2 separate regions of the Homo sapiens genome follow, and region 1 is linked to region 2. Evidence: promoter capture Hi-C in 16 types of primary human blood cells and fetal thymus (Javierre and others, 2016). All regions are on one chromosome and are shown on one strand. Each heading gives the region's core, a stretch centred on a gene start or on the middle of the fragment in contact. The rest is flanking DNA. Distances are from core to core; before and after follow the strand shown. Region 1 overlaps LOC124901993. Region 2 holds the start of RRM2B (ribonucleotide reductase regulatory TP53 inducible subunit M2B).

Region 1 (5,996 bases), core at 2,461-4,960, 920 kb before region 2:
AGACTGAATTCCATGTTGGTGTTGCACTATTGCTTTAAAGGTGACTTAAGCTCTTTGTTAGGAAACCAATGGTGTTTTCTTTGATGCCATGTTCCTGAAAATTACTAGTCTAAGATTAACCTTATCACCCCTCTCTCCTTTCCCCTATTAGTGCCACCCTTTCCCTGGGACCAGCAGACAATTGTACCCATTATTTTCTGGTTCTAAGGAAGGATAAACTTCCTTCTAAGGCTTCAGGGATGACAGATGCCTTCTTGGGTAAGTAAGGAGACTGAAATTAAAACTCAAGAAGGTGGGATTACGCCTAACTTTAGGCCTATTAGTCTTTTCATTTTCTGCCTCTTGTCTGTTGTTTTAATGTAAAGCTTTCCCCTCTTTTAAAGAAATAAGAAGTCATCTGCATTTTGAGTACTAGATTAGGATACAAATAATGAGTATCTTCAATGCTTTACTTATTTAAAAGGCATTTTATTTTTATCCTCACAAAGTTTACACTAAAAATCTGTGCTCTGCAATTCTCTTACATGATAGTAATTTATTTGGCAGGCATTTACTAAGCACCTACTATGCGCCAAGCACTAGACTAGGTTCTGGGAATGCAAAAGTGATTTAGAATGAAGTACCTTCTCTGATGCCAAGACACTTAACAAGAGCATGATGTGATTGGCAGATGGCTAGTTATTCCTCAATCTCCCTTCTCTCATTCTTCATAATAGTGGAGTTTTCTCAGTCCCTTTGGACATCTGTGGCAGATAGTGAGAGAAGGATGAGACCTTGAGAGACCAGGAGAAAAGAGCAAGGATAGGGCATGGGAGTAGGAGTGGGGACAGTTGCCAGGAGTAGAGAGGAAGGAATCTTTGCAGCAACATGTGACCTACACTTCAGGTCTGCAGGGCCTGCCCTTTAGACCCACTCCATAAATGTTGATTTCAGTTTCTTTTACAATTCCAGATTTTATGCTTATGAAAAGTCATATGGCAAGGTTGCTTGCTCAAATACTCACGAGAATGACCCATAGACCGAATTTGTTCCAGCTGCAGCCCAGCTGGTGTTTATGACAGACTTGTTAGCAGCTTTGAAATAGAGAAATAGAAGTTGCAAAAAAATTCCAGTTCCATCCTCTCCATTTAATCTTCTCCATGTTGGAAAAAAAAGATAAGCTGCTCCCAATATTTAAAAGCTTTCTATAAAATAAATTGCAAGTAGCTACAAAATTCTGGTATCTGCATTTTCTGACTGCAGATCTTCTCATTCAACCCTAAGTCTCTTTAGTTTTTAATATATGTCATTCTTTATCTCTTCTAAAATAAATGAAAGGACAGTTGGATCTTTGGAGGCAGCTGTTGCTCCTCCAAGTTAAGGAATCTCTGTTCCAGAAATTTCTCCTTCCCTGCCTACATTGATTTCCCAACAAACAAGCTTTGACCAAGCTTGCCAAGCAAGCTTTCTTTTCCCCTTCCAACCTTGCTGTCAGGACAACATTCCTGCCACACTCCTCCCCAAGCTCAGACACTAGACCATGTACTCCCTCCTTCTATCATCACTTGAATTTCAGGAAGCAAATCCTTTGACTCAACCAGAAGAGGATTACTTAGTGCTTTCTTCATTCTTCATTTTAATTTTCATCTAAATGCATCAACACTCTACCATCTGAGGCTTTGATTTTCTTTTAACTACAATTCAAGTGTTTTTAAGATTTAAAGACTCATCTTTCTGTCTCCTGTTTTTATTTTGCCATTTGGATTAGTCAGACAAAGTCCTTTCTTTGCAAGGAAATTGTCTTTGCAAGTTGGGGTTTATTCATCTCCTAAAAATATTCTTGGGGCATGTATAAAGCTAGAAATGCATGTGTAATATGCCAAGCATGTAAGTACAAAGACAGAATTTTTGCACATAATTTCAGCCATTCAGTTATTTCCAGGTTCATAGTCTCTTGTAATATGTAAGCTTTCACTGGCCACACTATGGAAAACTTCCATTTCTTTCAATGGTTGAGATATGAGATTCTTTGTGAATTGTTTCTTCTGGCTAGATGAAAATTACTAAAATGGCATTAGTAATCACTATATTAGTCTGTTTTCTGTTGCTTATAAGAGAATACCTGAAACTGGGTAATTTATAAAGAAAAAAATTTATTTCTTACACTTACAGAGGCTGAGAAGTCCAAGGTCGAGGGCCTGCATCTGGTGATGGCCTTCTTACTGGTGGGGACTCTGAAGCATCCTGAGGTAGGCAGGGCATCACATGGTAAGTGGGCTGAGTGCGTTTGTGTACTAGCCCAGGCTCTCTTCCTCTTCTTATAAAGCCATCCATTCCACTCCCATGATAATTCATTAATCCATTAACCCTTTAATCAATTAATCCATGATGGATTTATCCATTCACTGGGGCAGAGCCCTCATGATCCAATCACCTCTCAATCCTGAAACATTTGTGTTCAAGTTTCAACATGAGTTTTGGAGGGGACAAATATTCCAATCATATAACAATGGCCCGTGTCCAAGTAAGCCCACAGCAGTGTGTACTTAACCTTAGAACCACCCAGAACATTCTTGAATCTTTCTCTCATGGTTCAGGAGGTCTTCTCGGTCTCTCAGTTTGTTACTTAGGGCATCACTAGACTATTGATTATCCATAGTGGCAGGAATATGTCAATTATTTGAGCTTCCCAGAAAGAATTTGACATTCTGAACAATTAGAAGTACACTTGAAAACATATCAATAAATATGTTGACATATAAATGGCCACATTTTCGAGCAGGCTAAATGTTAACAGATAAGAAATGATTTGGCCATAAAATAGATAAGCAGATACAGATGCTGAGATTCAGTTGCTTTATTTTTTTTTCAGGTTGGAGCAGAAGGAACAGCCAGGGAAATGCATCCATTTAACCTTCCAGACTCTGGAGTCCACCTTCTTTGTTTTAAGTAAATTTTAGATGCAGAGGCCATGAACTCAGCTTATAATCAGCCTTATTGCTCATTCACTTATTCCATATTCAAGATATTTAATGCTCATATTGCTCTGACAACATGCCAAGGATCTTCAGCTGACACCTCCCTGCATACTCTACTGGGTGATATCTCTTCTGATTTGTTTTTGTGACTGTTCTGATTAGTTGGACTCATGCTATACAGGTTATTCAATATTTTGAATAACATCCTTGACTTATAAAATTGTAATGGGATAATAGTTTATAGTATCAACCAAGGTTTGTTTGTTTGTTTTCTTTTTCCCTCAAGAATCTCATTATATTCCTGATACTTCCTCAATCAATGTGTAAGAGCATTCCAGCCTATGGTATTAGTCAGGATAGGCCAGACTGTGCTGCAATAATAAACAGCTGCAAAAATCTCAATGGTTAAACACACAATAGTTTATTTCTCATTCATGCTACATGTTCATTGTGGGTCAGTGAAGGACTTTGCGCCATATAGTCACTCAGGACTCAGGCTAAAGCAGGTGCCGTCACCTTGTAGCTGTATCATTTGAGTGCATGTCCTCCTTGATAGGCACAGCAGAAGAAAGCACATAAAATTGTACATGGATGTAGGTATGTGGCAGTCATTATTTTCACCCATATTTCATGGCCAGAACTGGTCAAGTGGCCCTGCCTAACTGCAAGTGCTGGGCAATGTAAGAGACCAAATGGAAGTTTTGCCTCATGGGAAAAAAGACTCAGCAAATGTGCTGAGAAAAGAAAAAAGTGTCAACTGAGTTTTAAAATAAACTATCAAAACATTTGGTAATGAGCATATCTTGGAGACAAAAAAATATGAAATTACAAGTACCAGGCTTTGAGCCTCAGAAACCATACCTAAAGAACTCAAGAGCAAAACATATATATTTATAAATATAAACAAGAGATAAAATACGTGAAGAGTTCTAATGATTGCTGGAAAAGAGAGATAAGTCCGAGAGAAGAGTAATGGGGTTAGAAACTCGTATACAACTCTGCAAAGGGTCCTCCTGGGTTGAGACCCAGGGTCAGGGTATGCATGTTAAAAATCCTGAGTAGGTTTGGTAATATTCAGGAGCAGGAGCAGAGCAGACCTGGACCTCTCTTCCCAGGAGAGTCTTGTGGATAAGTCTCTTATGAGAGTATGGGTATGACAAGCTAGAAATGGCAGCCTATGTGTCCAGGAGGAAATGGTCTGAGATAGGCTATATTAGTCCATTCTCACACTGCTATAAAGAATACCTGAGACTGGGTAATTTATGAAGGAAGGAGGTTTAATTGACTCACAGTTCCACATGGCTGGGGAGGCCTCAGGAAACTTACAATCATGGTGGAAGGTGAAGGGGAAGTAAGTGCCTTCTTCACAAGATGGCAGGAGAGAGAGAGTGCAAGGAAAACTGCCACTTTTAAACCATCAGATCGCGTGAGAACTCCCTCACTATCACAAGAACAGCATGGGGGAAACCACCCCCATGATCCAATCAGCTCCCACCGGGTCTCTCCCTCAACACGTGGGGATCACAATTGGAGATGAGATTTGGGTGGGGACACAGAGCCAAACCATATCATAGGCCTTTGCATTTCTCATTTCCTAAGAGAGCACAAACAAACATCCAAAAGTTTCTGGGATTCCCCAAGGAAGTGTCAGATGCCCAAGGGAGAGGGCTAGAGAACCTGAGAGGGCCTTGTGCTTAGGATAAGGGGGATGCAGGGTGTGGGAAAAGACAGATGACCAGGGAGCAGATGGAAAACTCAGATGCCACAGAGACACCAGCAGGGAAGACTAATGACTGGACCTGCAGGGCCATGAGGATCTTGAGGACAGATGACTAAGAACCAGATCTGCCCTCCTCTCAGATTCTTGGACACTCTTGACATCCTTGCTTTAATGTGCAGCCTCTTAACCTGTGATCAAACTCTCCTCCATCCCTGACCCCTATGTGCCTCAGTCCCAGGACTGGGTCCTGGTCTCAGTTCTTGCCCACATGCAGGACTCACTGGCATTTGTTGATGTATCAGACACACCTGGACTGCTTCAGACTCTCTCAACCTCATCTATCTTCGGGACCCTTGGGGACTAGAGCCCAGAGTCTCTGGGTCCATACATCACTTTTGGCCTCAGATGAAGTGCCACACCAAAGGGGGTGGAGTCTGGCTTCCTTGGTGACTACGTGATGAATCCCCAAAGTAGAAGGGAGGTAACTCTGAATCCCCAAAGTAGAAGGGAGGTAACTCCTCTTGGGGCACACTTTGACCAAGGCGAAGCATGTTACAGTGTAAACGGATGGACTAAATACTTCTGTATTCCTCTCAGTGAGGGACTGTTCTGAAGGGTAATGTTCTTCTACAGCTTACCTGGAGATGTCTCCCATGGCCAGGTGGCTGGCTGTATCTGTGAAGCAGTGGGCCTCTCAGTAGCACTACTCTATATTGGCTTCTTACTCTTCCCTGCCTTTCTTTCCTTTCCCCTCATTTTCCCAGCCCTAGGGTTTTCTTGCAATAAAGCATTGCACTTAAGCTTTGTCTCAGCCTGTTTTCTAGGGAAGGTAGGCTAAGACATTTGAAGATGTCCCATGTGTCGGGAAGTGTATGAGGTAATTTCACATATGTGATTCCATTTCACCTTTACAACAACCTTGGGCAGGGAGGGCATGACTTGACAAGGTCACCCATGAGCAAAGAGTGGAACTCAAATATTTTTCATTGAAAAAGCAGTTACTGACCATGTTCTAGGCATCGGGAATACTGTGGTGAACCATTCAGACACAGCTGCTACTCTTGTGAAACTTATGGTCTGCTGGAGGAGGGCACATAATAACAAGTAAACAAATCCATAAACAAGATAATTGCATAATGTGCCAAGTTCTAGGGAGACAAATAAGGCTATGTGATAGAGTGTGACTGGGAGAGGGGACACTTTTTTTCCATGTAGTATTGAGGGAAGGCCTCTCTGAGGATGTGACACAAGGGCTGAGGCCTAAATGATCAGGCAGCCATGGAAAGTTTTGGAGGAAATGTTTTCCAGGCAGAGAAAAC
Region 2 (6,540 bases), core at 4,041-6,540:
CATAGCTCACTGCAATTTAATTCCCTGTTAATTGTCTCTAATTTCCTGTGCTTCTTGAAAGTAAAATCCATTTTCACCCTTGTAGAATCCCTTGTGCTTAGCACAGTACCTGGCACTTAGTTGGTACTCATTCCACAAATATTTGAGCAATTTTTTTTTAAGACTGGGTCTTGCTCCGTCACCCAGGCTAGAGTGCATAGATCAGAGTAGTGTGATCATAGATCACTGCAGTCTCAAACTCCTGTGCTCAAGCAATCCTCCTGTCTCAGCCTCCCAAGTAGCTAGGACTATGTGCACACGTCACCACACCTGGATAATTTTTAAATTTTTTGTAGAGATGGGGGTCATGCTATGTTGCCCCGGCTGGTCTCAAACTCCTGGCCTTTGTTATTTTTATTACTGAAATTTGGGATATACTCAAAGTATGAAAGTTGGGAACTTCTATACTTTTGTTACTGGAAGTTGGGAAGGACATCACAAGCAGTCACTCTTCAGCACCAAATGCCCTGACGATGAATGAAGTTTTTAAATGATGATAAATAACTGATCTGCTGAAGACTAGTACCTTTAAGTTAGAATGAAAGTCACATTTGTATACACATTCTCCTGTTCTATCCTGATAACCTGTAGACTATTAAGAGGAGTAGCTGGATTAGGAGTGTATTATGAGGGATTTTGCAATGTGAAGAGAAGGAGGTTAACCAACATCAACCTTTGAGCTGGGCTAGAGATGACGTATTATTTCATAATGCTTAGAAACGTGCACAAACATACATTTGAATACAATTTCAGAAAGTTCATGCATCTTGAAACTCTAGGCTCTCCACAGTACCCTCTGTGGACCTAATCTAAGAACCCATATTTTAGAAGAAAAAAAAAATGTGAAAAAAGATATGATGGGCAGGGCGCGGTGGCTCACGCCTGTAATCCCAGCACTTTGGGAGGCCGAGGCGGGCGGATCATAAGGTCAAGAGATCGAGACCATCCTGGCCAACATGGTGAAACCCTGTCACTACTAAAAATACAAAAATTAGCTGGGTGTGGTGGCGCGTACCTGTAGTCCCAGCTACTCGGGAGGCTGAGGCAGGAGAATCACTTGAACCCAGAAGGCAGAGATTGCAGTGAGCTGAGATCACGCCACTGCACTCAGGCCTGGTGACAGAGCAAGACTCCATCTCAAAAAACAAAACAAAACAAAAAGAAATATATGGGTGCATGAGAGAGCAGCCTACTAGACATAGAAATTTCAAAGCTCATGGGTATCTATATTTTTACAGGGTTAATAAAAGAGCAAAATTGGTTAGTAGTAATCTGATTTTTAAAAAATTTTGGAGGTTAAAGTGGTCTGCTTTGATATAAAACACTTTGGCATCTAATAACTCTAAGATGTATGCTATTGGGAGCCACTGAAGGTTTTTAATAAGGCAAATAACATAATCAGATATATCTTTTAAGATCGCTTTTCTAGAAACATTGCTAGATTAGAAGAGAAATTAGAGGCAGAAAGAACAATGAAAAGATTATTGTACTACCCATCTCTTGCCTGAACTAGAAACACACACAAAAATTGATTTAAGTGATATTCAGAAGTAGAATGAATTATTCTTCCTAAAAATTTGAATTTGGGACAAGGGGCAAGAACAGTTAAAGATGCCCTTGATGTTTCCAGCTCCAGTAACTGGGTGATAACAAGATCTAAAAGGCACACACAAGGTGCTCAGTACCTGGAGAATAAATAAATAAATCAGACAAAAATTTTGCTTCTCACATTAGATGTTTAACGGAAGTTTAATTTAACTCCTCCCACCAAGCCAGGCGACAACAACAAAGTTACAAACACAATATCCTCACAAAGTCAACTAGGTCATTAGAAGAGATAATGAATTCAGGCCCGGCGTGGTGCCTCACGCCTGTAATCCCAGCACTTTCGGAGGCCGAGGCGGGCGGATCACAAGGTCAAGAGATTGAGACCATCCTGGCCAACATGGTGAAACCCCGTCTCTACTAAAAATACAAAAATTAGCCGGGCGTGGTGGCGTACGCCTGTACTCCCAACTACTCGGGAGGCTGAGGCAGGAGAATCACTTGAACCCAAGAGGCAGAGGTTGCAGTGAGCCGAGATTGTGCCACTGTATGTACTCCAGCCTGGTGACAGAGTGAGACTCCGTCTCAAAAAAAAAAGAATAGAAAAGATAATGAATTCAGTTTCAAGATGTCCAGTAAGCAGTTAAAAATATAACACTGCAGAACACGAGTGATGGAGATCCCATTAGTGGTTGCCAAGGGAATGGATGTGATTATCCAGAGAGAACATATAGAGCAGCAAGACAACTGAGGATACAGTCTTAGAGAATGCTGATATTTAAAGGGCAGATGAAAGAAGAGAAGCCAGCTGAGATTAAAACAGGCTGAAATGGATGCAGGACAAGGAAAAGCAAAAGTAGGAATGATGTGATTTGGCTAAAGCAAAGGATCTAGACTCTTAAGATAAATCAGACTAAGAGGTTAGGAATCAATTTTGTGGCCAAAGATCTTCAAACATCGGAGGTCTAGAAGGCTCATACTCCAATTCTCCCCATTTGCCCCCAACCCCAGGTGCTGGCGTTCATAGCAGGGTACAGTTTGAAAATCTGTACCCCACAGATTTGGGGGTACAAATAGTCATGGAGAGTTTCTGAATGGGAATTAACATGAATAGAGGTGGCATTAGGAAGACTAATCAGAAAACCACGTATAGGATTAATTGATAAAAAACTAGATTTTGCAAGCAACTAAGGAACCAATTTCAAAGATGGAAATGAGGACTTGAATTAAGATGTGGCAGTTAGCATGAAAAAAGCAGCTTCAACAAGACTTCACCAGCCTGAGGTGTTGGCCAGGCTTTTTGGTAGGAATTGAGACTCTTTTGGGAGTTTTTTGGGGGACACAGGGTCAGTGACACTGAGGCACTGGTCTAATGAAGGATTAACTTGGCAATGGTAATTAGGATTGAATGGCAGGTAAGATAGGAGATAGAGAAACAACAAAATTATTATAGCCGCACAGGTGTAAAGTGATGAGAATTTGAAATAAAGTTTAGCAGTAGGCATTCCTTAGTGACATTCTGCTGTTTTTTCCAGAATGGTACTTCCAGTTTCCGACTGACTCAATTTCTGGTCACCCAGTTGGAAGACATGCCTGGGCATGTCAGGACAACAATTTAGGTCAAGATTTCCCAGCAAGCACTTACGATGCCCCAATCTAGGCTGGCATCATACCAGGCTCTTACCTCCTATCCAGCCCCAATTCCACCACTTCCGTTTCTTTGCCTTTATGTCTCTTCTACTTCTGTAAAATAGCTGTATGTTGTCATAGTCATACACTACTTGTAAGTATTATTTTCACTTCTATTCCCACAAAGTCTGACGGAACCAATGGGATACCCGCCCAGGTGCAAGAACTTGGTTTTAAATTTAGCTCCTCTACTGAGTCCTGGGCATGCCATTTAATGTTTTCTGGCCTAAACTTTACCTTGACAATAGACTATGAATTAGATTAGCAATAGTTAACTCTGAGAAATTGACAATAACTATGGACCCCTTTCTCAGAAGATTCACATCTGCACATACAAAATCTACATATCACTTCAGGAGATTTATAAAGCCCCTTCTAGTCTATCTATGGACCCTTTAAGACAGTGGGGGGTTTTTTGTTTTTGTTTTAATATGTGTACCAGGATCACCTGAAGTACTTGTTAAAAATGCAGATCTCAAGAGATTTTGATTCACTATGTTTGGGGTGTTGGTCCAGCAATTTACATTTTTTACAAAATACTCCAAGTGACTCTGATGCAGGTCTCCTATTATGCACTCTGGCATCTAGAAAAACAAAGTGCTTCAGGCAACCCAGCATCTCAAGTTAAAAACTTTTGGACCACTAAAATTCATTCTGAATCTAAAATTCTGTCTGTCCTTGCGGGTCTGTATCATTGAGATAGGAGTAATAAATAAAATGTAATATCCAGGTGTTAAGCCTGAATCACTGCTGGTGCCATTAGCATAAACAGCAGTCTGAATTTTCCCCTTTGAGTAGGGAAGTTGGTACTAAACGCATTTGTTTCAAAACAGGAAGAAAAAGCTTGAGGGATATTTACAGTTAGTTACTAAATGCTTACAAAAATCAAGTTAAATAAAATAAAATCTCAAACCTGGAATCTACAACTTTCTAAAGAAATGTAGGGCCAAGCATGAATCTCTTGGGGTGGAAACGTTTGTTTCCCCCAAATCTTCACAGTATTAAATCAAAGATACCACAGCAACAGGTTCCAGTAGTACAAAAAGCATTTCTCTTGTCCACAAAGGGCTTAGAAGTATTTGCAAAATGACAGTGTTTGAAAATTATACAGCAACAGTTTAAACTACCATACAATCCTACAGTCTAACAAATTCTGGTTTATTTATTTTAGGTACTTTTATCAGCATAAACAACTTGGATGAACAACTTGGGCTTATTAAGCACCTACAATTTTCGTGGCACTTTGCATAAAGCATTTTACTTAATTCTCTCTGAAGTATCACTTCCATTGTATAAAGGAAGAAAGTGACACCCCGAAGATTCAGTTAGTTAAGGAGCCGGGCCTGAGCAAAACTGGCCTCCTACCCTGATTTTTTCACTGGGAGGAGGTCATGAGGATTTCGTGTCCCCTTCTACCTGTCATCTTCACCCCAGCCACCTGTGTCAATTTCCACACGCGTTCTCCAACTCCTTGTCACCATCCCAAATGGTATGCACCTCTCCAGCAGAGCCGCCACAGTCCTCTTTCCTTGCCTCGGTTTCCCTGGCCAGGGCTCCAAAACAGGGAAGGAGGGTGGGAGAGCGTGAGGCGGATAAACGCAGGGGTAAGTCTCACCCCGGCCTGAGGCCTCCAAGCGTCGTCCTTGGCTGGCCCCGGGGCAGAGCAGCGAGCGGGACGCAAACCCAAAGTCAGCTCCTTCCTCCGCCCTCCCCGGGGACGGCCTCCCCGGCGCTCGCAACGACGAAGCCAGGCTGCGGCGAGGGCGGGCGGACAGGCCTGTCCTGACCGCGGCGAATAACATTTCCTACAGCGGTCCTGCAACTTGCAATCTAACGGGCTGGCGTGACTGCGGTGAGGGGGAAGACGCAACAGCAACATTTACCTCATCCTGATCCAGCCCGGCCGCTTCCGGCCTTTCCGGGTCGCCCATCGCGCAGACTCCGCCGAAGCTACGGGCGCTGAGGGAACTGAGCTCCTCAGGCCACCTCCAACTACGACAGCACCCAGGTGGTCCGCTGGTCCGCTGGGTCCGCCCCGCCCCCAGCTCTAGGGACTCGGCCGGCCCCGCCCCGCCGCGCCGGTCCTGCTTTCTCGCCTGTCCATTGAGTGACTCTCCCTGCGCCGGCCCGGCCCCGCCTCCCCCGCCTCGGGGCTCCGCCTAACTTCGGCCAGCCCCGCCTCCCCGCCTGCGGCCTAAGGGTTTCTCCCCGCCTCGGCCGACCCGCCTCCCCTACTGCGGCCTAAGGGATCCTCCCCGCCTCGGCCTGCCCTGCCTCCCAGCCTGTGGCCTAAGGGATTATCCCTGTCTCGGCAAGCCCCGCCTGCCTTGGGGCACCGCCTACCTCTGCCAGCCACGCCTCCCCTGCCTCGGGGCTCCGCCTACCCCGGCCAGCCCCATTTCCCCGCCTGCGGCCTAAGGAAATCTCCCTGCTTCCGCTGGCCCCGCCTTACTCTGTTGCACCGCCCAGTCGCCCGGCTTTCCACTGAGGGACGCCCCCTGCTCTGGACTGCTTAGCCTACTCCAGCTGGCCCCACCTCACCTCATCGGCCCCGCCTCCTCCGCTCGCCCACTCCGGGCGCCCACTCCTGAGGAGCTATCCCAGAGTCCGCGCGGCCTCGCCTTCCCGGCCCGCTCACCACCCCGCCTCGTCCCACCTCGCCTCGCCCTCCCCGGGCTCTAGCCACTTGGTGCGGCAGGTGTCCTGCAGGCCGGCTCGAGATTCCCGAGCTCGCCCTCGTGGTGTTCCAGGAACACGGTACTTTGCGCTAGCCTGGCCTGTCCTGAGAGACTGCGGGAGGCGAAGAGAACGCGCTGTTGCTGTGGGAAGCGCCGGGGACGGGACAGCTACACCGCCAAACACTTCGCTAGGGAAAGGGCTGGCTGGTTTCGTGCGTAAACAACCGAAAAGGGGAAGTGTCTGGGGGAAAGTGTGTGTGTGTGTGTGTGAATGCGGGTGAGTGAGGGGGAGAGGGACACGTTACTAAAGTCAGGCAAATATTTTGAAAAAAATATATTTTGAAAAAAATAGTTTGGTCTAACAAAAATAAAATGGAAGAGAGATTTGTTTAAGTAGTTTGAAGCTGAAAGATTGACGGGATCTTGCCATGACCTGAACAGCATGCACCTGTTTTGTGGCTGGCTGAAGGATGGTAAATAGGATCAAGATCTCACTTTAAGCGTTGAAAATGCTGAAAGCCCTTTCTCAAACCTGCCATAGCGTAGGGGTAGACAGTCTTTCTTAAAGCAACTACTAGGGGTCAAATGC

Evidence for each region. The method cuts DNA at HindIII sites, captures the fragments that hold promoters and counts their contacts. A CHiCAGO score of 5 or more calls a contact.
Region 1: a contact is called between a fragment that was not itself captured here and the fragment with the promoter of RRM2B in region 2, in 1 of 17 cell types (M2 macrophages). The highest score is 5.6, in M2 macrophages.

What each region holds. Positions count from the first base shown.
Region 1 is chr8:101,317,904-101,323,899 of GRCh38, forward strand. LOC124901993 reads left to right here. Exons shown (of 6, transcript XM_047422526.1): 4 at 152-258; 5 at 2,152-2,247; 6 at 2,852-3,359. The coding sequence ends at 2,892. Among named protein-coding and RNA genes, the nearest start is that of LINC02844, 58 kb to the left of the region's middle. The HindIII fragment of the contact is 3,531 bases long and covers 1,946-5,476 here.
Region 2 is chr8:102,233,671-102,240,210 of GRCh38, forward strand. RRM2B (ribonucleotide reductase regulatory TP53 inducible subunit M2B) reads right to left here and starts at 5,291. Exons shown (of 9, transcript NM_015713.5): 1 at 5,157-5,291. The coding sequence starts at 5,204. It overlaps UBR5-DT (UBR5 divergent transcript), which reads left to right and starts at 5,781. Exons shown (of 3, transcript NR_125415.1): 1 at 5,781-6,030. RefSeq lists enhancers at 2,612-3,811, 5,115-5,214 and a silencer at 5,285-5,714. The HindIII fragment of the contact is 7,159 bases long and covers 4,115-6,540 here.